Linked DNA regions of Homo sapiens: regions 1, 2, 3 and 4 are each linked to region 5. Evidence: promoter capture Hi-C in 16 types of primary human blood cells and fetal thymus (Javierre and others, 2016). All regions are on one chromosome and are shown on one strand. The core of a region is centred on a gene start or on the middle of the fragment in contact, and the rest is flanking DNA. Distances in the headings are between cores, read along the strand shown.

Region 1 (4,674 bases), core at 1,131-3,630, 760 kb before region 5:
CATTTCCATGAGATATCTAAAATAGTCAAATTCATAGAATCAGAAAGCGGAATAGTGGTTTCCAGAGCTGGGGTAAAGGGACATGGGCAGTTGCTATTTAACAGGTATAGATTTTTAAACATGCAAAATGAAGAAGTTCTAGAGATCTACTGCGCAGCGACGTGCATCTAGTTAACAATACTGCACTGTACACCTAAAAGGTATTAAGAGGGTAGGTCTCATATTATATGTTTTTACCACAATCATAAAAAATTCTAGTGTTTAAAGTTTTTTTAATTTTAAAATTGCAATTAAGAAATTATTGATCAATTTACCAAAGTATGTTCTATAGATATTGAGTAAAAAGGGAAAGCAGTGTTTATTGTTAAATAAGTTTGGAAAACATAAGCTTAAATAAAATTAAACAGATTCATTACAGTAGAATTTCTCAGTGATTTTTATATGCTAATGTCTTGGGAATTCCAAGAAAGATGGTATACTATGCAACATTTCCTATGCGTATCAAATCACAGAAGCTTTTTTGAAACATCTTGAAGGCCTGGTGTTTTGTAGAATGGATTTTAGAAAGGTTCTTGGAATGATGTCCAGAAAATAAAGGGACTAGTGGCCTTTTCTGGAGAGATTGGGTTCCTTATCCAGTCCCAGGCACCCATTCATTCAGAAAATACTGAAGAACATGGCTCTGTACTTGAAAACTGGCTAGGGGTGCACAGATAGAAGCAAAAGCCCCTGTCCCCAACAAAGTCACAGTCTAGTGTCAAAAGAGCCAAGAAAACAACTGAAGTAAACTTAATAATTGATATAATGGTGATAAAAAGCAAATCTTAGGATTTGCTGTCTGATAATTAATTTTTAAAAAATCAACTCATAATGACTTAGTGTGTGATTATACTAAGTCATCTTACAGAAATGTGTATGAATCAAGCAGTTGATTGATTAGTCCCAGAAACACAGAAAAAAGTTTATCACGTGGGCAAAATGAGGCAGTGCCCACCCAAACACCAGGGCATAGAAATCTAGCTTCAAGTAGCTGGCCCCATTGGTGATGATATGCCTAATGAAGATAAAGACATAGGAGTTTGGGACAAATAATCTCTGTCAGGATGTTTTCTAATGTCTGATGGATGTGCATTAGTCTATTTTATCCCGGTGCCAATGAACATTTCTTTGACCAACACAACTCACCTTATTTTCAAACCATGCTCACAAAACATCATTCTGATGATGATCTGGCATGTCCTATGGTGTGCCTGTAGGAAAAGATTGTGCTGCCTAAAAAATTAGATTATTCTTATTTCTGTGTAAACTATTCATCATTGTCAGTAGGTAAATTTGTGTTAAGGCTACCAACCATGCTGGCTTGCCTGGGACTGAGGGTTTTCTCCAGACACTGGACTTTCAGGGCTAAAATCAAGACTGTCCTGGACAAAACTGGCTGAGTTGATACTCTAATTGGTGTTCATGTTTAAAGATTGATCTCAAGAGCATCTCAAGACCATGTCTGAGAGATGAACTCACCTTGTTGTGATGACCAATCCAGTTTCTGAACTGGTAATACTGAGGGCGGACCCTAGCCTAAGACCAATTCACCAAAGTAATGAAGGTCACACAGCAACAAGCCTTTTTGAGAGTTACCAGCTTTGGTAGAGGCAAAATAAACAGGGGGAACTTCATGCTTCCTGATTCAGGAATTGGAAACTTCAAGAAGGAGGTTGTTTTGATCTGATGGGACTGGAGGTATTAATACAGGGGTTTTTTCAAGCAGACATGCAAGGAGACAGCAATTCATTCATTAATTATCAATTCATTTATTTATTTAACAAATACAGTTAATTCAGTTTCTCAAGCATTTCTTTGAGCACATACTCTCAAACCACTCAATAAACAAAGATCAATTCCTGCTTTCATGAAGCTTATATTCTAGGGAAAGAGATAGAGAATAAAGAATAGGCAAGTACAGTAGAGTATATGTTAGATGATGGCAAGTGTTAAGAAGATAAGTGAGGCAGGAAATGAGGATGGAAGCACCTAGGAAGGTGCCATTTAAGCAAATACCTGAAGGATCTAATGAAACAAGCCATACCAATAAGACAAGAAGGAGAGTCTTGAAGAGGTCAAGGAGGGGTGAGGCCACTGGCATGGCTAGAGATATTGAGAGAGCCGATGAAAACAAAGGCAGAGAGGAGGGGGCTTTTTTGTGGATTAAGTAGGGGATTAAACGTAATCAAAATAAATTAGGCTTTTAATCTTGGTGAGATGGAAAGTCAATGTGGGATTAGAACAGAGAAAACAGAATGTGCAAAGGCCCTGACTAGAGAGAACCAGATAGAGGGGAATTAGAAAGAATTCCACATTTGGCTGTAGTATTGAATACTTTGGAGAATCAAGCAAGACATGGACCAGAAAGGGCCTATTGACTTTAGGAGATCCTAGGTACTTTGATCATTTCCTTGGTTTAGAGAGAAGGAAAGGCAGGTATCCATGGATGAAGCAGTTGGTGGGGCAGAGCCTCGGGTCTTGTTCAGAGGTTGCTGAGGGGCTGACGGGGCAGGCAGGAGTAAATGAAAGACTGAGAGGAGGGTTCTCTGGTCTCCATCCCGTCTCTCAACCAGTGAAGTTGTTCTTTGTGTGTATGTGTGTGTTGATGTTTCAAAAAAGATTTAATTTGAAAAAGAGTGTTCTACTGCTTGAAAAAAAAGGGGCATTAAAAACCAAAAATAGGAAGTGAGAAAATTAATACATCTAGGTGGATGAACTTTCTAAGAAAGGACTGAAAAAGGGGAGACGTAAGCAGTATGGGGATTTGAGGACAGGGTAGAAATTTTTATTTTGTTAAGATAGAGCTAGGTTAAGCTTGTTTTAGGCTGAGAAGAAAGAGCTGTTAAAGTGTAAAAGTTTGATACAAAGAACAACAGGAGGTAATGGGAAAGTGACTAAGCTCTCTTACAGCAGGTAGGAGAGCGTCGGGTCCATAGCAGACATGAATATATTTGCATTATATTTGGTTTATAAGCTATAATTCTTAAAGCTCAAGGATTTCCTTTGACTGTTTTTTTTATGTCATTTAAGCTTCAAATAAACATTTAAATAAGCACTTTTTTTTAAAGAAAGTTGATTTTCATATCTAGTTATTATCCTGCTACCTTTGCCAACATACCAGAATCTTTGATTATTTTTTCTCCTGTGGCGTCAACCTAGAGAGGAAGGATCTTGATTAAATATGCCAACTATCTTTACACTCAATTTGACCAAAGGCCAACTCTTTTTATGTTTGTAATAGGAATGTACTGAACAAATTCTGAAATTCACTTTCATAAACTTTCTTTCTCTTAGACTTTCAGAGTAGGGTAAGTTTTTAAAAAGCCGAGTCACCATGTTCGTCTTTAGGGCAGACAAAAGTCTATGCACTTTTTTTTTTCTTAGACTCCCAGGTAAGGAAATTCTATAATCTACTTTAAAATCTACTCTAGCCCTTAGCAAGATTTCCAATCAAGAGGCTCCTTTTCATCACTAAACTGCTTTGCTGCTGCAGCAGATTTAGTAGATTTCCTAAGGCTTCAGAAGCAGTGGAGAGCAGCCTCCCTTGACTTGGTGTACAGAGTCAGGCCACAGAGACTTCCACTCTTACTTCCCGGGTAGCACACACAGCACAGTCAAATAAATGCCCTCCTGGATTCCTATGCCATTAGGGTATGTGCTAAAAGAGCTCACTGGAGAAAAAGCTGAAATCAATTGTGAGTTAGGGCTTGCTTCCCAACATGTAGCCCAACAACGTAACATCAACACCATTGGGGATCTTGTCACCATCTTCTGAATAACAGGATCCCCTTTTAACAGGATCCACAAATGATTCTTATGGACATTAAAGTTGAGGAGCCACTGCTTTAGATAATTCTTTTGAAATATTATATAATCAGCTTACCGGACTTCAGAATTCCTCCTTTCCCAATGGCTGGCTCTTCAGGGTGGTGTCTTTCTCTTACTCACCTTTGTATTTCTAGTGCCTAGCACAGGGCCTGGCATATGCCCCTTTGATTTCTTTTGGTGTCACAGCTTAATCCATGTTTACTGAATAAGTTGCAGAATCAGTCTAGTGTCACAGTATAATCCTACTGCCATCAGAAGAAATTCATATAAACAATTTTTCTGAATATGGCTTTTACTATAATCATTATTTTAGGCCACATATCATGAAACCAAAAATCCTACTCTAAACTGATGACCTTTTGGTTTCATCTGGGCAGAGTCTCCCTTTTGTTTTAATTCAAAGCATACCTCTATTTCCACATTCCCATTTTTCTGGGGTTCAGTTTATCTTGTGCTATTTAATCTGTTTTTTTTTTTCAGTCTCCCACTTTCTTTTCTTCCCAAATGACTGATGCAGGTGGAGGGTGGCAATTTTTGAGTTATTTTTGTATCTTGTTTTTCCCTTTAGCTTTCATCAAGGTGACACTTTAGAGACTTAAGGTGGGTAAGTGGAAAGACAGAGAGGACTTTCTGTTTTCATCAACACCTGCAAGAGATTTTTCCCTATTCCAACAATAGCATTGATTTTACATTTTACTTGCTCTGAGCAGGATGATACACAAAGGCTTAGCATGATAGATAGTGTTTACTTATTTTTAGACCATTTGTATTTTTCATTTCATGAGACCTCTGCCATTGCACATTTTT
Region 2 (4,273 bases), core at 1,361-3,860, 740 kb before region 5:
CCAATGAGGATGTATAGATGGCCCGTGAAAAGGTTTAACATTATCAGTCATTAGGAATTGGCTAATTAATGCCACAACAAAATACTACTACATACCTATTAGAATGACTAAGATAAAAAGTACTGGCAATACTAAGTTCCAGCAAAGATTCAGAGCAACTGATCTTTCATTCATTGGTGGTGTGAATGTAAAATGGAACAGCCACCCTGAAAACAGTTTGGCAGTATTTTTGACAAGTTTATACATATACTTACCATATGACTCAGTAATTGACCCCAGGGTATTTATTCTAGTGCAATTAAAACTTATATCCACACAAAAGCCTGTTCACAAATGTTCGTAAAAGCTTTATTTGTACTGTAATAGCCCCAAATTGGAAACAACCCCAAATGTCCTTCCTTGGGTAAATGGATAAACAAACTGAGGGGTACCCATATGGTGAAATGCTACTCTGCAATAAAAGGGAATGAACTCTTTCAGCCTTTTCTATCTCTCTTCTCTGATTTTTCCCTAGTGCTTATTGCTTTCTACTTTATCACATAATAGATTTTTATTGTTTATTTTTTGTCTTTTGTTCTCTGCTAGGTTATAACTGTGAGAGCAGAAATGTATGTCTGCTATTTTTGTTCTTTACTGTTTCATCTCCAACACTTAGAATCTTTTTATTCTAAGCTACCTGGTGAACTGTCCTGAAGTGATAAGCAGTATTTGCCAGTAAGACAGTTCACGTCCACTAAATATATTCTTTCCTTTTAATGTGCTCTGCACCTTTAATTTTTTTAAATTTATTTTTAAATTTTATTTATTTATTTTTTGAGACGGAGTCTCACTCTTGTCTCCCAGGTTGGAGTGCAATGGCACATCTCGGCTCACTGCAACCTTCACCTCCTGGGTTCAAGCGATTCTCTTGCCTCAGCCTCCCAAATAGCTAGAACAACAGGCATGCACCACCACACCCCCAATAATTTTTGTATTTTTAGTAGAGACGGTATTTTACCACATTGGCCGGGCTAGTCTCAAACTCCTGAGTCCCAGTGATCATCTTGCCTCTCAGCCTCCCAAAGTGCTGGGATTGCATGCATGAGCCACCATGCCTGGCCTGCACCTTGAAATTTTAAAACAATTTTTTTTTCATGTCCTGGAACCAAAGCTCTTCATGCCATGTTGGGGTGGGATTTGATAAAACACTTTACATGTTTCCCATAAATAGTATTCCCAACAATTCTGAGGAAATTCTGTGGTTCTATAAACCACTGCTTGAAAAATTAGTTTTCTATCATGACAAACAGCTCATCTTTGAAAGTACAAAGTATTTGCAATTGATTTTCAGAATGAATCATATTCTTAATAATTGCACAAGATTACTCACAAATTCAAGGGAGTTAGATTTAAAAAACTGACTCAAAATCAAATGAACCCAATTTATAACTTGTGCTTACAACATGTTCTCATATGACACCCACAAATGTTTCTTTTGTGAAGACTCAACCTCAAGTTACAGAGAAGGGAAATTTCTACTTCCATGACTTTGCCAGTAACACAATCACAGTGGTAATATGCAATGTTCTTATTTCATTATATGGGGCATAGAACAGTTTGCTGACTTAATTGGCAAATAACTGTCTTTTCAAGACAATTGAGAGGTCAATATCTGAAGAATGAGTGAAATGGAAATATTCAGAAATGTCCTAAGTGAACCATAAAGAAAGTTGAGTCTCCAAGATCTCAAGATGAAAGCATTGATGATGAGAAAGCTGCCTGTGATTCCATGTGTACATTGTGAGTAGTAATTTAGCAAAGTCATTCACTGACTGGGAAATATCTACTATGCACCAAGTCTAGAGTCACAATAATGAGTTTGGCAAATGAGCTGAGGGGCTATTTGTATGAAGCTCATGAACTAATTAGGGGTAACAAAGAAATAATAAAAAAATAAAGTGTAATGGGGAAAGGCAGAGTTCTACAAGGATAGAGAGATCAAGAAATTTTGCTGGTTGGCTCTCACTGCTTTGATGGCCTGGTTTTGATACCTATGTAGAGCCTTGGCAAAATACACTAAAATTATTTTTAACATTAGTGTTGATGAGAAGATCAAACTGTTTTAATTCTCTGGACTGCTTAAGAGTCACATGCCCTTACGACAAGAGTAGGTTTCATACTGTAAGCTACAGGTAAGATTTTTTTAGGATTGAGGATTAAATGTTTTATTCCTGTAAGGTTTTCTATTCCTTTCATCTACCAATATCCAAGGAGATGCTAATGTAAAAACTCTTCAGAACTGCTTTCCATCTCTTTTCCTTCCCCTACATCCCATTAAAAATGGAGTAGGCAGGAATATAATTAATAACAGTAGGCTATTTTCTGGGAGGAAAACACCCAGCTGTAGGCACTGAGAGATGCATTCATTCATTCATTTGCATTTTTTGAGTGCTGGCATGCCCTAAGCATTATGCTAGGAGCTATAGATTTCAGACTCTGGTAGTTAGAAAAAAAATGGCTTCCCGAAATGTCCACATTCTATTCCCAGGAACTGGTGAATATGTTAGATTGTATGGCAAAGGGGAATCAGAGTTGCAGATGAATTAAGGTTGCCAATCAGCTGACACTGAAATAAGAAGATTATCCTGGATTATCCAGCTGGGCCCAATATAATCACAAGCGTGCTTTTTAGAGTAAGGAGGAAGCGGAAGAGGGAGAACAAAACAGATTGCAGCATGAAAAGAAGATTGGCCTGGAGTTGTTGGCTTTGAAGATGAAGAAATGAGACCATGAACCAAAGAATGCAGGTAGTGTCTAGAAGCTAGAAAACACGAGGTAATGAATTATTCCTTAGAACCTCTAGAAAGCAACAGTCCTGCCAATACCTCAGTTTTAGCCCAGTGAGACTGATTTCATGCTCCTAACCTCCAGACCTATAAAATAAGTTTTTGTTGATTTAAGTCACTAAGTATGATAATTTGTTACAATAGCAGGGGGGACTGAAGCACAGACCATACTGCAGTGTCTGCCCTCAAAGAATTAATGGACCATTGGAGGTGTTAAGAATTCAATGAGGGAAGGTTCTAGCCAGTGACACTGAGTGCTGACCAGGGCTGGAATTGAAAAAGGCTTGTAGAAAAGACAAAATATCCTCCATGCTGGACGAGACAAGAGCATTGAGGTCATAGCATTTTTGCTTCCATGTGGTCATTTATGCCCAAGAACAGATGAACTAACACTTTGAGGGCATTTTCTTATACAGCTGGGGAATTTGCCAGAGAAACAAGCAGCTGGGCCCACAGAAGGTTGGAGGGGTGGAGGAAGGAATGAGACCCAGGTTTAAAAGGATCAGAGATGATTATATTTTATATACCACCTATATACTGACTTCTAACACATGTATCTTCAGCTCATACACAGCCCTCTCCAAACTGCAGATCTAACTATGAACCCCAAATGTCTCCTTGGGTAGCTACTGAACAACCAACCCCAAACTCTCGATCTTCTCTTTCAGTCCTGCTCCTATCCCAATATTTTCCCTTTCAATAAATGGCACTGCTACTTTTTGAGTTCTTCAGGACAAAGACCTTGGAATCTTCCTTGGCTACTCATTTCCACTCACATTCCACATCCAACCTATCTGGAAATCTGGTTAGCTCCACCTGCAGTATATTTGCAGAATGTAATCATCTCTCACTACCTCTACTGCTATATGTCTGGTCTAAGTTATCTTTATCTGGCTCACTTAAATAGCATCAAACTGATTCCCTTGATTCCATCGTTTTCCAATCACAGTCTATTCTTTTTTTTTTGTTTTTTTTTTTGAGATGGAGTCTTATTCTGTCACCAAAGCTGGAGTGCTGTGGTGTGATCTCAGCTCACTGCAGCCTTACGGTTTCAAGCAATTCTCCTGCCTCAGCCTCCTGAGTAGTTGGGATTACAGGCGCCCGCCACCATGCCCAGCTAATTTTTTGTATGTTTAGTAGAGGCGGGGTTTCACTACGTTGATCAGGCTGGTCTCAAACCCCTGACCTTGTGATCCGCCCACCTCGGCCTCCTAAAGTGCTGGGATTACAGGCGTGAGCCACCACACCCAGCCTGCAATCTATTCTTAACATAGAATCCAGGATAGTTCTTTCAAAATTATTTCTCTGCTCAAAACTTTCTGTGATGTACAGTCTCACTCAGAGTAAAAACCAAAACCCTTCTAGGTATTTACCCAAGGGAAGTAAAACTTTTATTCACACCAAGTGTGTACAAAAGTGTTTGCAGCAGCATTAAACAAAATAGTTAA
Region 3 (4,362 bases), core at 1,442-3,941, 660 kb before region 5:
AGGATCTTGCTCTGTCACCCATGCTCACTGAAACCTTTGCCTCCTGGCTCAAGCAATCCTCCCACCTCAGCCTCCCAAGTAGCTAGGACTACAAGCATGCACTACCATGCCTGGCTAACTTTTTTTTTTTTTGTATTTTTAGTAGAGATGGGGTTTCACCATGTTGCTCAGGCTGGTCTCGAACTCCTGGGCTCCAGTGATACTCCCACCTTGCCCTCCCAAAATGCTGGGATTACAGGCATGAGCCACTGCACCTGCCTTTACTACTCTTAAACCTCTTTAGAACTATCTCTGCATCCTTGACGTTAGCCTGTAGCCTAGTCATAGCCTTTTTCATTCTCTAACTCAATAATGTTCTATTTTTATTCAAAAATAGAAATAGGTAGAACAACATTTAAGATTAAAAAAGCATTTTTATTTGGAGGTTAAAAAAAAACTCCTTGCAAATTTGTCTCTTCCCTACCCCTTTTACTTTGATAGAGCTTGAATCATTTCTTCTTCATTTGATTTAATAAAAACTTTTAAATGCTTTTACATTAAAACACCTTGTTTAAAAACAAAGAAAAAATAGAGTTGAAGAAACTTATTTTGCTTGTCTATAAATATTTGTAATACTACTGGAATTTATTGAAATGTATATAAATTAGATGTGCTAGATTAGTTACAAGAAAGTACAAAACAATGAGATTTATTTTAAAACATAGATATTATTTAGAGAACCACATAACAAAAGCAAATCCTAGAGTATCCCTCAAGTGAAGCCATTTGAAAGAAACCTTAACTCATCATATATAATATGTAATACTTGTACAGTGATAAAATGATCAGGCTAGTTCCATGGGAAGAGTAAATACATAAGAAAGTTCACTTAATATTTATTACCTCATTAAATTACAAAGCATACAATAACATGCTATTGCACACAGTATGACTATGTCAAGTGTCTATTAAACATAATTAAAGCCAGCAGCTCTGGGCATAATGAGATTTAGACTACATGAGAAATATTAAAAATCTACTTGCCTAAGTCCTTTTAGGCAAAATTGATTATATCCTTTGCTCACCTAATGTATTAGTTCATTCTCACACTACTATAAGGGCATACCTGAGACTGAGTAATTTATAAAGAAAAGGGATTTAATTGACTTACAGTTCTGCATGGCTGGGGAGGCCTCAGGAAACTTACAATCATAGCAGAAGGCATCTCTTCACAGGGCAGCAGGAGAGAGAATGAGTGCTGAGTAAAGGGGGAAGCCCCTTATAAAACCATCAGATCTCATGAGAACTCACTCACTATCAGGAGAACAGCATGGGGAGACTGCCCCCATAATCACCTCCCATGAGTTCCCTCCCATGACACGTGGGGATTATGGGAACTACAAATCAAGATGAGATTTGGGTGGGGGCACAGCCAAACCATATCTCCTAAATGTTAACAAGTTCAACTTTTAACACTAATTTATCAAAGCAGTTAAATTCTTAGAAGACACTATTTTGGTTTATTTCAATTCTATGCCACACCAAAAGCAATCAAAAATAGGTTCCTAATGAACTTAAGGACCTATGGAGGCTAACCCCAAATTCAAACTAATGAAATCTCAAAGCAGATGTGTTTTCAATAAATGTTCCTTTATCTCCACACAGACTTTGGCAAAATCCACTTGTTCATCGTCATTTAAAAATATGGCTAAAAGATTCCACTGATTCAGATACAGAGATGCATTACATCTTCCAAGGAGTTAACAAAGGAGGATGGAAACAATGAATAAGCTTTGTTTTGAAATCCAGTATCAAAAACTTGTAAGTTCCTAGGCCTCCTTATATTTTAAGCACCCATGTAATCCTAAAAACATCTCAAAAGTACTCTTGGTATTCTGACACTGTTTTTGTCATTTCATAGCTTATAAGAGTAAATTTAAAAACCTAACTATTTAGAGACATTTTTATACTTTGCCATTTAAAAGACATGTAAGTAGAATTTATCCTATAAAATTAAAGAATATTTTAAAAGGTTAATAAACATGTTTTAACTAAATTTTGGGGAGTAACTTTTCCTCTAAGTGTTTGGAATTGATTGAGCTTGTACATTTACTAATCAAACACAAGTCAAACACGATCTTTTTGGGACAAGATCTAGATCTAAGAAACTCAAAGGAAAATGAATTTAGGGTTTTACATATTTAATAAGCAAACACCCATCTCTGTTTTGCTGGGTAATTGTCTTCCTAATACTCTTTTTAGGAAACATACACACACAGGCACACACACACAAACACACACTAAAGAGTAGGGGTAGAAACAACTAATTACTTACTAAGACATTTCTTATTGAATACTGATTTTCTTCCTGGCCTGTACCAGGCTTTGAGGATATAAAAATTATGTTTTTTCCTCACAGCACTCACACTGTTAAATAATTAATCCACTGATTTCTAGACAAGTCTTTATGAAGCACCTACTAAAGGTAAGGCACTCTGCTCAGAGGTAAGGATGTATTAATGAACCAAACAGGCCTGGTTCCTCCCTTCATGGAGTATACAGTCCAGTGGGGAGCATAGACACTCATCAGATTATCAAGCAAGTGCATGTAGAATCATCACATGGAATCCAAACGCGCGATAAGAAGTATATGGTTCTATATAAGCACAAAAGTGTGGGATAGGATTTGGTCAAGAAAGTGAGAAAGGTGCTAATTATGTTAAAATCATAAACAGTGGGTAGATATGAGTAGGAGCATCTAGGAAAAAAGGAGAAAACAGCACATTCCCAGCAAAATAACCAGTACTGTGGATTGACTCGTGTCCTCCCAAAATATATATTCAAGTCCTAACCCCTAGTACCATGTGATCATACTTGGAAATAAGATCATTGCAGATGTAATTAGTTAAGATGAAGTCATACTGGAGTAGGATGAGCCCTTATTCCAATATGACTAGTGTCCTTATATGTAGAGGAGAAGACACAGATGGGGAAGGTTGCCTTATGAAGACTGAGCCAGAGACTGGAATTATGCTACCACAAGCCAAGGAACACCTGGGCTGCCACAGATCAGAAGAGACAAGGAAAGATCCTTTCCCAAAGACCCAGAGTATAGCCCTGCCATCACCTTGACTTTGGATTTCTAGCCTTTAATTCTGTGAGACGACACATTTGTATCATGTTAAGCCACCTAGTCTGTGGTTCTTTGTTACAACAGCCCTAGGAAACTAATACAACCAGCATCAGTAAAAGCGCCGTGGCAATAAAAAACATTTCAAATAGAAAGAACCAGAAGAAATCCAGGATAGCTGGACACTGTGTGGTAGCAGTAGGGTTGCTGGATAAAATACAAGATGGCTAGTTATATTTTAATTTCAGAAAACAACAAATACCCTTAGCATGTGAGTCCCATATTACATCTAGAAATCTGACAAAAATATTTGCTTATCTGAAATTTAAATTTAACTGGGCATTCTGTATTTTTATATGCAAAATCTTGCCACCCCAGAAAGAGGATACATGGTGAAAGTTGATGGCAAATAGGTATAGAGAAATGTCTATGCCTCTTTAGATTGTTAGATTGAAGTGGATTAAATTTGTGGGAAGTGAGAGAATGGTGACAGCAGGTATAGGCAAGCTTGCAGAAATTTAGCTGTGAAAGGTCTAAGGAGCTGAGGATAGGAATAGGAGAATGAAGAGTTGAATGAGGCTGTTTTTGTTTTTTGAGTGGAAGAGGCACATGCATGGTTAAGAGCCAGATGACAGAATCTACCTGAGAATTTGATTATATAAAAGGCAATAAAGAAGGGATGTTAAATATTTATAGCTCATAGAAAAGTGATAAATGATGGGATACATACAAATGATGGTTTTAGATAGAAGAAGAGGCATGTCTTCCACTGCAACAAGAAGGCAGGAGGGCAGCAATGGTTCACTGTGGATTGTTTTGAGTATTTAATATTAGGGAAATATTTAATATTTGGGATTCTCATCAGATAATCACATACTCTCTGTTTCCCATATTCTGGGAAATTCTTAACTATGATTTAATGAATAATCCTGGATGAGGTTACATGACACGGTTTGGCTGTATCCCCAACCAATTCTCATCTTGAATTCCCACATGTTGTGGAGGGACCTGGTGGGAGTTAATTGAATCATGGCAGCAGATCTTTCCTGTGCTGTTCTCATGATAGCTGTTCTCATGAGATCTGATAGTATTGTAAGGGGGAGTTTCTCTGTACAAGCTCTCTCGCTCTCTCACTTTTTATTTTTTGCCTGCTGCCATCCATGTAAGATGTGACTTGTTCCTCCTTGCCTTCTGCCTTGACTGTGAGGCCTCCCCAGCCATGTGGAACTGTAAGTTCAATAAAACCTTTTATT
Region 4 (4,390 bases), core at 803-3,302, 720 kb before region 5:
GCCCAAAGAGAATGAAAGGCAGAGGAAGAGTGAATTTGCTCTCTCTCTTCTGGAGCTGGGACATCCATCTACTCCCGTCCTCAGATATCAGCATTCCTAATTTTGGGGCCTTCAGAATTGGATCCGTACTTACACTATTGCCCCCACCCTACAGTTCTTTGGCCTTTGGACACACACTGGGACTTACACCATTTACGTCCCTGGTTCTCAGACCTTCGGGCTTGGCTTTCCTTGGCCTCCAGCTAGCACGTGGGAGATTATGAGACTTCTCAGCCTCCATAATTACTTGAGCCAATCCCTCTTAACAAATCTCTTTATACTTATCTACATATAGTCATGCATTGCTTAATGATGGGGATGCACTCTGAGAAATGCATCATTAGGGCATTTTGTTATTGCGTGAACATCATAGAGTATACTTACACAAAACAAAATAGTGTAGCCTACCACATATTTAAGCTATATAGTATAGCCTGAATATTGTAGGTAATTGTGATAGAATGATAAGTATTTGTGCATCAAAACACCTGGAAACATAGAAAAGGTACTGTAAAGTATAGTATAAAATATAAAACACAGTACACCTATACAGAGCACTTACCATGAATAAAGCTTGTGGACTAAAAGTTGCCCTGGATGAGTCAGTGAATAAGTGGTGGTGAATGTGAAGGCCTAGCACACTACCATATACTTTTATATGACTGGTAGTGCAGTAGGGTTGTTTACACCAACATCACCATAAAGATATGAGTAATGCATTGAGCTATGACATTATGACAGCTATGATGTCACTAGACAATAGGAAATTTCTCAGCTCCATTATAATCTATGGGGCCACTGTTGTATATATGGTCCGACATTGACCAAAATGTGGTTATGACTATACAGCCTATGGGTTCTATTTCTCTGGAGAACTCTGACTAGTACAAGCTCCCAACTGGATTATATGATTTAAAGTGAATCACTTCTGTCAGAATGAGTGCTAGATATTCCTACTAGACATGTACTTCTCAGTTTGCTAAATAACATGCTTCTAGGAGGATATAGTAACTCTTCTTGCAAAAGCATTTCTTACAGAGCTTTGCAGGACTTTTGTTTTTTTTATTTTATGATTATTACTCTTTACTATTTGGTATTGACTTCTCTTTCTCTTAAAGATTTAAATCTAATGGTGTCTGTGCACCATTACATTCAGGGAAGATAAGAGACATATATTAAATCCCTGAAATATGCCATTCTTTTGTGTAGGCTTCTGTCATAACTGACTTACTCCATCATCAAAATAACATCTGAGGTAGATAATGGCCTGAGGTTATGCCCTGTGTTATATCTGAGGACACTAAGGCTGAGAGAGATTTAAAAAGTTGTCTAAACTGATAAGCCATTTTGATTAAGATTAGCCACACTCAAAAGTGTAAACAACTTCCAAATCATCATGTTTTCTCCTGAGAACAAGGGACAATTCACAACAAATACTTGAATGTGTCCTACAGGCCACTCATTGTACTGGCACTGTCCCTGCCTTTAAAGTGCTAATAGTCTCACGAGAACTAGAATGATGCATGGTACTTTCAAGCCACATTGGCTAAGTAAAACCCAATGGTATGACCAGAACAACTGGTCTTAAAAAAAGGCTCTGGCAGCCTTTTAGCATAGAGGTTGGCTAACAGCACTGAGCACAGACCTTGAAGTCAAGATCTTCTGGCTTCACATCTCCAACAATTAACTTATTGCTTGACTTCATATAGTCTGTTTCCTCATCAGCAAAATGTAATAATAATGGAAATAATTATGTACTTTACAAACAGTTGTGTGAAGTAAGTGAGATACTACTTACTAAGTGCTCATGTGGTTTCTGGCACTTAATAGGCCTCCAGCAAAGTTTTGGAGGAGCTAAGAATGAGACTCCAGGAATGGAATATCTCAAAGATAGGACTTGTGTGTGAGGGCCCTGGACTGGAAAGACACTAGGAGAGGGTTTTGCATGGGGATTCCTCTTCCGTACCCTAAACATAGTGCTAAAATTTTCAGAAAGGACTTGCTTGGGAACACTATGAATAAAACAGAATGTCCCCCCGCCCCCCACCCTTTTTTTTTTTAAACTGCTGACAACTGCTAAAATGCTTACAGACTTAGCCTGGATTTTCAAAGAGGATTAGATATCACTAACAAGATTGTCCAGGTGCCTAAAAATTTATGCGATGTTTTCTCTGATGAGGGAGTGCTTTGTTGTGAGCTTGCAGAACAGCTGTGATCTCTGTTTATAGGGCTTACCATTATTTGAGTGTCTGTGCTCTGCCTCATGGGCTATAAAGTAAGCCAAGTCATCCTGTTTGCTCATGGTAAAATATTACAAATTAAGTCAATAAATGCACTTCTCCCAACTGAAAATCTGCACCCCTCTGGACATCACAGAGCTATCTGATACCTTGTCTTTCTGTACTCTGGTCTCTAGGTTCCTTGCAATCTGCAACTTGATTGAAAAATTCCCAGTTCTATATTCTTCTGTATGAAGAAGTAGTACTGCATCTGTAAGCCAGATCCTTGTTTCCTCCTGCTTACTTTATCTTTTCCCATATCGTTCTAGGAAGACATGTTTGCCTTCTCAGTCTGCGGAGAAAATTAGATAAGTATTATATGTTGCTTTTAATATCTATCCAGACAATTACATCAAAAACTTTTAAGTGCTTCTCTTCTGTTCCCTATTTGACTGCCTGCAGCATTTCTCAACTAAAAGCTCTCTTTCCAAACTTTGCTTTAATTGTTAATAGGCATCTGCTGAGAAGGCTTAACTTTGCTTTATGGCATGGTGTGGGAGATTTCGATGTGCCTCAGCTTGTTTGTGGCAGAACTTGGGGAATGGTGAGAAATTAGATAACAGTCTGTTGAGCCCTAAACATACATCAGTAAGAGATCACTGCAGAAATAATAGCTGACATTTGAAAAGCATTTCATAATGTTATACTAACCAACCTTCCTGGGTTAAGAACTAGATTGAGCAGCACACAATCCCCATGAAAATGTTCTCAATTTACTACTAGCTGAGAGCCCTGCTGCAGTTCTGTTATTAACTGCTCCACTATGGCAAAAGGATAGAGGAGAATGTTGAACAGGGCTTTTCTAATTAGTGTTTGTGGTGCTAGTCTGCTGGCTGACCTTGAAATTGGAATAAGGCAGGTCAGACATTAAAACTCAGAGAAAGAAATCAGAATTCTTTAACTCTCTTCTCTCTATACTATCTTTAACTCCACTTCTCGACTCGTCTACTCTACTTCTCTCATACTATCATAGACCTACAACTGGGCAACCCTTCATACTCTATGTTTATTTGTCTTATACTTTTACAAGGCTTAATAAAACTCCAGCTTACTAGCCAACCAACATGAGAGTTTTTCTGATTCTCCATAATGACTTCTAAATGTCAAATGAGTAAGATTCAGTTTATCCAGTTCCTTAGGCAAGATAACAAGCCCCCGATTTCTAATAATGTAGGAAGCTTGTTACTTTTTAACAACTGGCCTTGAAGACCTGGGTGGTTCCCAAAACCCCTTAATTTGACTGCAAAGATGAGTCACTGAAAACTCTGTCATCAACCATACTATGGGGACAGTGCTAACAGAGATCCTTGAAATTCCCAGATAATCCCCAAACTACCATTTGGCTACCAGCTTTAGCCTCTTAACTTAAATCTTCACTAGAACTGCTAACAACATTACACTGATAAAAGCTTCAAAAGAGCTAGCATATTTCTGAGAAGTGTTAACTTGGGGATGTATCAAGAATTGGGCCATAGAAAGAAGTTATAGAAGCAAAAATTGAATATTCATTCTTGTATAACAAATGCATTGTAGAGTTTTGAGTACTTATTGCATCATTTAATTGTCAGTAGAATAGTTTGATTTAAGCTATATAACAGTTTTATCATTTATTTGTAAGCCTTAACTAGGTAGAAATATCTTTTTATAGAATTTAAACAATATATTAGGAGCAGAAACTGACTTGCTGAGAAATTGCTGGGTCTTTCCAGAGGTCGTATGAATAGATTCTTAGACAAAACAGAAGTCTAATTCTAGAAAACTGTCTAGTTTTCAAATGTCTATTATAATCTATCTCTGAGTCTTAAGTGTTAAGGCCTACTGCTCTTCTCATTGTGTTAATGGGCTTTTGCTTGTGCGCCGCAGAGACTAATTTTCTTTCCCATATAGATATAAATAAGGACAATGGTACAAAAGAGAAAATGGTGAGGGAGGCCTTGGAGCTAGAGTTGGGAGCCTTGTAGGATTCCCTGGGTTCCTCAGAAAGCGCTCCCTAATGTGGAAAACCAAAGTCAGGTAAATGGAAGAGGAAATGTTAAAGGAGAATTACTTTCTGGTATTTATGCTACTTTCAT
Region 5 (4,549 bases), core at 400-2,899:
CAAAAGCTGAATGAGCACCAGTTGTCCTGCCTTCTAGAGAAAATCATAATTTTATACAAACATTGTATAAATTGCCTTTCTTACAGATGTATGCCTAGGCAGGTGAGTGTGTATATTATTTGGAGGGGTGGCTAATACTGAAGTTAAATATAGTGGTGAGAATGTGGAGCACATCAAGTTCATAGCTTCACAACTTCATAACCTCCTTCACTGTAAGATTTTTGTCCAGGACACCCCTATTCTGCCTTAACACCTTATTCTATGAGGCTTAGCTCAGGTCTTGCCTTCCCTGACCACCCTCTGAGCTGGATGCCTCTTTCCTTTACCTCCACTGTCCCTGTCCATAATCCTGTCTTTCTTAGGCATTATCACTTTGATCTGAAATGTTCTGTGGGCGCAGCAGCCTCTCTACTTGGCTTTAAGTGCTGCAGGGAGCTTATTCACTCTTGCATCCTCATCTCTTAGCACAATGCCTGGCATAATGTCAGTGCTCAGCAAGTGTTAATAATACGTCCTGTCCTTCCAATGTCCAGTAGTTATTTCAGTAACTAAATCCTCTTTTTTAAAACCACCTTATGCAAAGTTAATCCTCTGTGGTTCAAAAAGTTCCAAGACAACTTAAAAGACAAATTTTCCATTACTTTGTCATCTCATCTGTCGAATTCATCTGTAATTTGTCTAATTCAGCATCTCCCACTGTGTGTGTTCCCATGAGTTGGACTCCAAGAGATGCTCTTGGTAAGCGTATCTATGTGGGAAACATGTTACTCAATCTAGCAAGGCAGCCAGTGCAGTGGTTTAGCACACAGGTGCTGGGGGCAAACTGCAGGCTCTGTCGGGCAAGTGATCATTCTGTGTGCTTCTGTTTCCTCTTCTGTAAAATAGGACTAATAACAGTTTTTCTCCCTCACAGGGTTGTTGCCAAGATTTGCTGAGTATTACACAAAAGGTTTGGAGTACTTAGTGCTAGGAACATACTGACTACTATTATTAAGCAAAGTTAAACAATTTCTTTTTCTTATTTGGTTTTATTTTGTTTGCTGGCTGTAAGACTGCTGAGAGCCTTTAGCATGCTGATGTACCCATGAATCTCCAGGGAAGCAGTATTCCCCACATTTACTTGATGGAAGAGCTGCTAGCATATCTCAGGGGTAATGGGCCTCAAAACATACCTTAGGAAATTCCTATTTATAAATTTAAAAGAACGTTAACATTTTCCAAACCCAAATTGGGACACTGATTTGACCTGTATGGCTATAACTTGGGAGCATTGGTACATAATATTAATATTTGAAGAGAGGACTGGTCTAGCAACACAAGTAAATAATAATAATAATAATAAAAGCCCAAGACCTATGTGTTACTACAATTAAAATATTTCTTTTTTTAAAAAATCAAAGTACAAGTGAAGTGACTTTTATTGATATTAAAGTGGGAACTGCAAATATGGCCCAAATAAAAAACCATGTAGGCTTTACGTATTATTTTCTGACACAGTTAAAAAACTATTACTTGACAAAGATGAAGGGCCAGACTTCCTTATTCAAAACCTCACGCCATTTATCTTAATTCTGCTGCATCTGATACTGACTTCCTCTAGAGCCAGGAAACTTTGCAAGTATTAAATAGCGTGAACGAAGGAGGGAAAGAAGGAAGTAACCCACCAAAGTGAAAAAGAGGAACAAGTTCTAACCCAATGCAGGTTTAAAACATAACCAAAAGAACAAAAGAGAGAGCTTGACACACCAATCTTGAGGTAAGTAAGAACCTGATTTAAGGTATTTGGATGATTAAACACTATAAGAAACAAGTTTGTCTTTAATTAATCAATGATTTTTATCTTACTACAGTTTTTAGAAAAAAATGCCTTACGTAGCTGTAAGGGGGAAACCCAATTTACAAACTGAGAGTGATGTTAATGTTTCTTTACAATATGATTATGCTTTGCTGTTACCTTGTTTCCAAACAGCAGGGCATTCTCTTACTTGAAAATTCCTGAAGTTTCTCAACAATTTGCGATTTTAAGAAAAATGTCAAATTGTTAGGTAACCTGTTGGAACTGCTTTCCAAAATGAAAACAGAGTCTTCTTTCAAACTGGTCAAAGTGAACATTATTTAAGTGTTAAACTATATTTGAATGGTTATTGTTTAAAATATGTTTTTCATTATAGTAGGTCTTTGTTCATGTCTCACAGGTTTTTTCCTCTAATGTTATTTCGAAGAAAATGATGCATTTCTTTTTCTGTAAAAAGTCTTCTTGTCTTTATCTTGGTAAATATCTCTTAGACAAACAATTTTAATATTTTGGATGTACCAGAATTTCTACTCTACATAGAATAACATAGATGGTAAAAATGCCTTTTCTTCTTAAAAATTAAGAGAGTAATTTATTGCCTTATCCTCAGCTACAGAAGTGACAATAGTTAGCCTTCCTCAACCCTCACCGTGACTTCTGTTGCAGGCCTAGTATCTTTCAAAAAGTTGATTAATTTCAATCAATACTTAAAGTGTATTTTGTAAATTTATTTCAAATATTCTGGCAAATAACTTCTTAAATCATTAACCATGTATACCATAAAATATCTTGCAGATAATTGGTGCTCATCTGTTTCAGACAGGAAATGAGGTCCTAATGATTAAAGTCATTTGGCTAAACTTTTGTCCTTGAACACAAGCACGGCTGGCCTTATAAAGGAGGGACCCTGCAGATTGTAAATCTTATGTGGCGGACCATACAGTTCTCAACCTCAATATTACTCCCAAAAATTCCAAGGAGATTAAAATGTTTCTGCATCTGGGGTGCTTGTCCCTGTATTTTTATCAAAAAATTGTATAAATTAGCTGCACATCTTATTTAATTTTCTTTTATGAAATGTCAAATTAAATATTTGCATATTAATATATTCTAACCTTGGACAAATTTATGAACGTTCATTACCATTAAACTTTTCATGAAAACTCACTGAAAGCAGAGCACCACTTTGTGAATTTCTATTTTTCTTCTCATTGTTACTATTATTATCCCATAAGGAGATTACTTCATTCATTAACAAATGTCTAATAGATTAGTCATTCTGTGTCTAATGCTGGTGTTGGTAATACAAAGGTAAATAATATATGATTTCCAACCTTCGAGAACCTCAGAGCTAATCAAGCTATACAAATTTTCTGACTGATGCACTTAGTAGCATGTTACAGATATTTGGATAAATAATATTTTGGGGAAATTTTTACCTGAATTCTCATTCAGTCACATTTTGGTTGTAAGGAAGTTACTTAACTTCTTTAAGCCTCTCTTCTTATCTATAAAATGGTGATATGAATAGTACCCACTACATATAGCAGCTATAGGATTAAATGAGATAATCCCTGTAACAGTTTTTAAAAGCTGAAACTCTTAACTAAACATTATTGATGATAATAACATTCCATAGATGATAATAATCATTTCACAGGCACTGTTGGATCTATGTCTATGTCTAGACTGAAAATATACAGTAATAATGTTTTGTTGATAAAATCACAATGGAACATGCAGCCCAGTTGAACACTTCCCCTTCTTGTCTCCTTGCCATTTTAAAGCATCAACAGAAAACAATGTAAAATCATCTTGCATGGAAGTTATTTTCTGAAAGCTATGAGAAAACCTGTGATACTAAGGATTTTGAAAATACATTGGTTTACTTTAAAGATCTCATTTCATGTTTTAAGTATAAACTACACCCTTGAGTTTTAAACTATCATCTTAAGCAATTAGATGCTGACATTTGCAGTCATTTTTAAATGCATTATTTCATTCAATAAATATTGATTGGATGCATTTTCTGTGCTAGGTGTTGTGCCATTCTCTGGGAACATACAGATGAAATGACCTGAACCCTGCCCACCATTTAACCAAGTAAGAATACAATTCTCTCTCATTTAGGTTATCACGCTATAATAGAGAATGGACTCATTAATATGGGATTACAGAGGAAGGAATGGTTAAGAAAAAGACATGGCCTCTGACTGCTCCAAAAAAGGATAAGCAGGGCTTCACAGAAGAGGTGACAGGTAATAAAGATGATTGCACGTGTCTGTATATGTCCCTTTTTTTCTATTGTGCTCAGAACATTATCTTTCACTCAAAAATTGTTATCCTAATTGTCAAAAACTATGTGGAGATCTAAGTGATAAAACCACTCAGGGTTGGGCAGGGACAGGATTTTTCTAACTCTTTTTCCTTTCATCACAACGGGTAGTATATTTTATATTAAAAGCAGAAGCTCACTATATGCTGGTGTTTAATGCATTGGTGAAAATCAGTAATTTTTCTATGTTAGATAATAAGTATGCAATTAACATATTTTTAATTTATAGCAGGTTTCTGGATGGCAGATCATTCAACCTTCTTTTTCTTGAGTTTTCTACTCTGCTGTCATCTTCCACTCATTTCTGCTTCATTTTGTGATTCGTTAACAGAAAAGGAAGTGGAATGGAATAAAATCCCCCAATACAGTACAATTATACATTAATGGCTGTAATGTGAAGAGCATCACACACGAAGAGA

Evidence for each region. Contacts are between HindIII fragments. The CHiCAGO score rates a contact against its expected background, and 5 or more counts as called.
Region 1: a contact is called between a fragment that was not itself captured here and the fragment with the promoter of GAPT in region 5, in 1 of 17 cell types (activated CD4 T cells). The highest score is 5.3, in activated CD4 T cells.
Region 2: a contact is called between a fragment that was not itself captured here and the fragment with the promoter of GAPT in region 5, in 1 of 17 cell types (naive CD4 T cells). The highest score is 5.3, in naive CD4 T cells.
Region 3: a fragment that was not itself captured here is called in contact with the fragment with the promoter of GAPT in region 5 in 1 of 17 cell types (total CD4 T cells); the score reaches 5.4 in total CD4 T cells.
Region 4: a contact is called between a fragment that was not itself captured here and the fragment with the promoter of GAPT in region 5, in 2 of 17 cell types (total CD4 T cells and M2 macrophages). The highest score is 7.0, in total CD4 T cells.

Annotation. Positions count from the first base shown.
Region 1 is chr5:57,729,683-57,734,356 of GRCh38, forward strand. No RefSeq gene overlaps it. Among named protein-coding and RNA genes, the nearest start is that of LNCBRM, 160 kb to the left of the region's middle. The HindIII fragment of the contact is 941 bases long and covers 1,911-2,851 here.
Region 2 is chr5:57,753,395-57,757,667 of GRCh38, forward strand. No RefSeq gene overlaps it. Among named protein-coding and RNA genes, the nearest start is that of LINC02225, 140 kb to the right of the region's middle. The HindIII fragment of the contact is 4,533 bases long and covers 345-4,273 here.
Region 3 is chr5:57,826,663-57,831,024 of GRCh38, forward strand. No RefSeq gene overlaps it. Among named protein-coding and RNA genes, the nearest start is that of LINC02225, 70 kb to the right of the region's middle. The HindIII fragment of the contact is 1,846 bases long and covers 1,769-3,614 here.
Region 4 is chr5:57,773,911-57,778,300 of GRCh38, forward strand. No RefSeq gene overlaps it. Among named protein-coding and RNA genes, the nearest start is that of LINC02225, 120 kb to the right of the region's middle. The HindIII fragment of the contact is 2,884 bases long and covers 611-3,494 here.
Region 5 is chr5:58,489,786-58,494,334 of GRCh38, forward strand. GAPT (GRB2 binding adaptor protein, transmembrane) reads left to right here and starts at 1,650. Exons shown (of 3, transcript NM_001304431.2): 1 at 1,650-1,756; 2 at 3,926-4,053; 3 at 4,462-4,549. The HindIII fragment of the contact is 6,945 bases long and covers 1-4,549 here.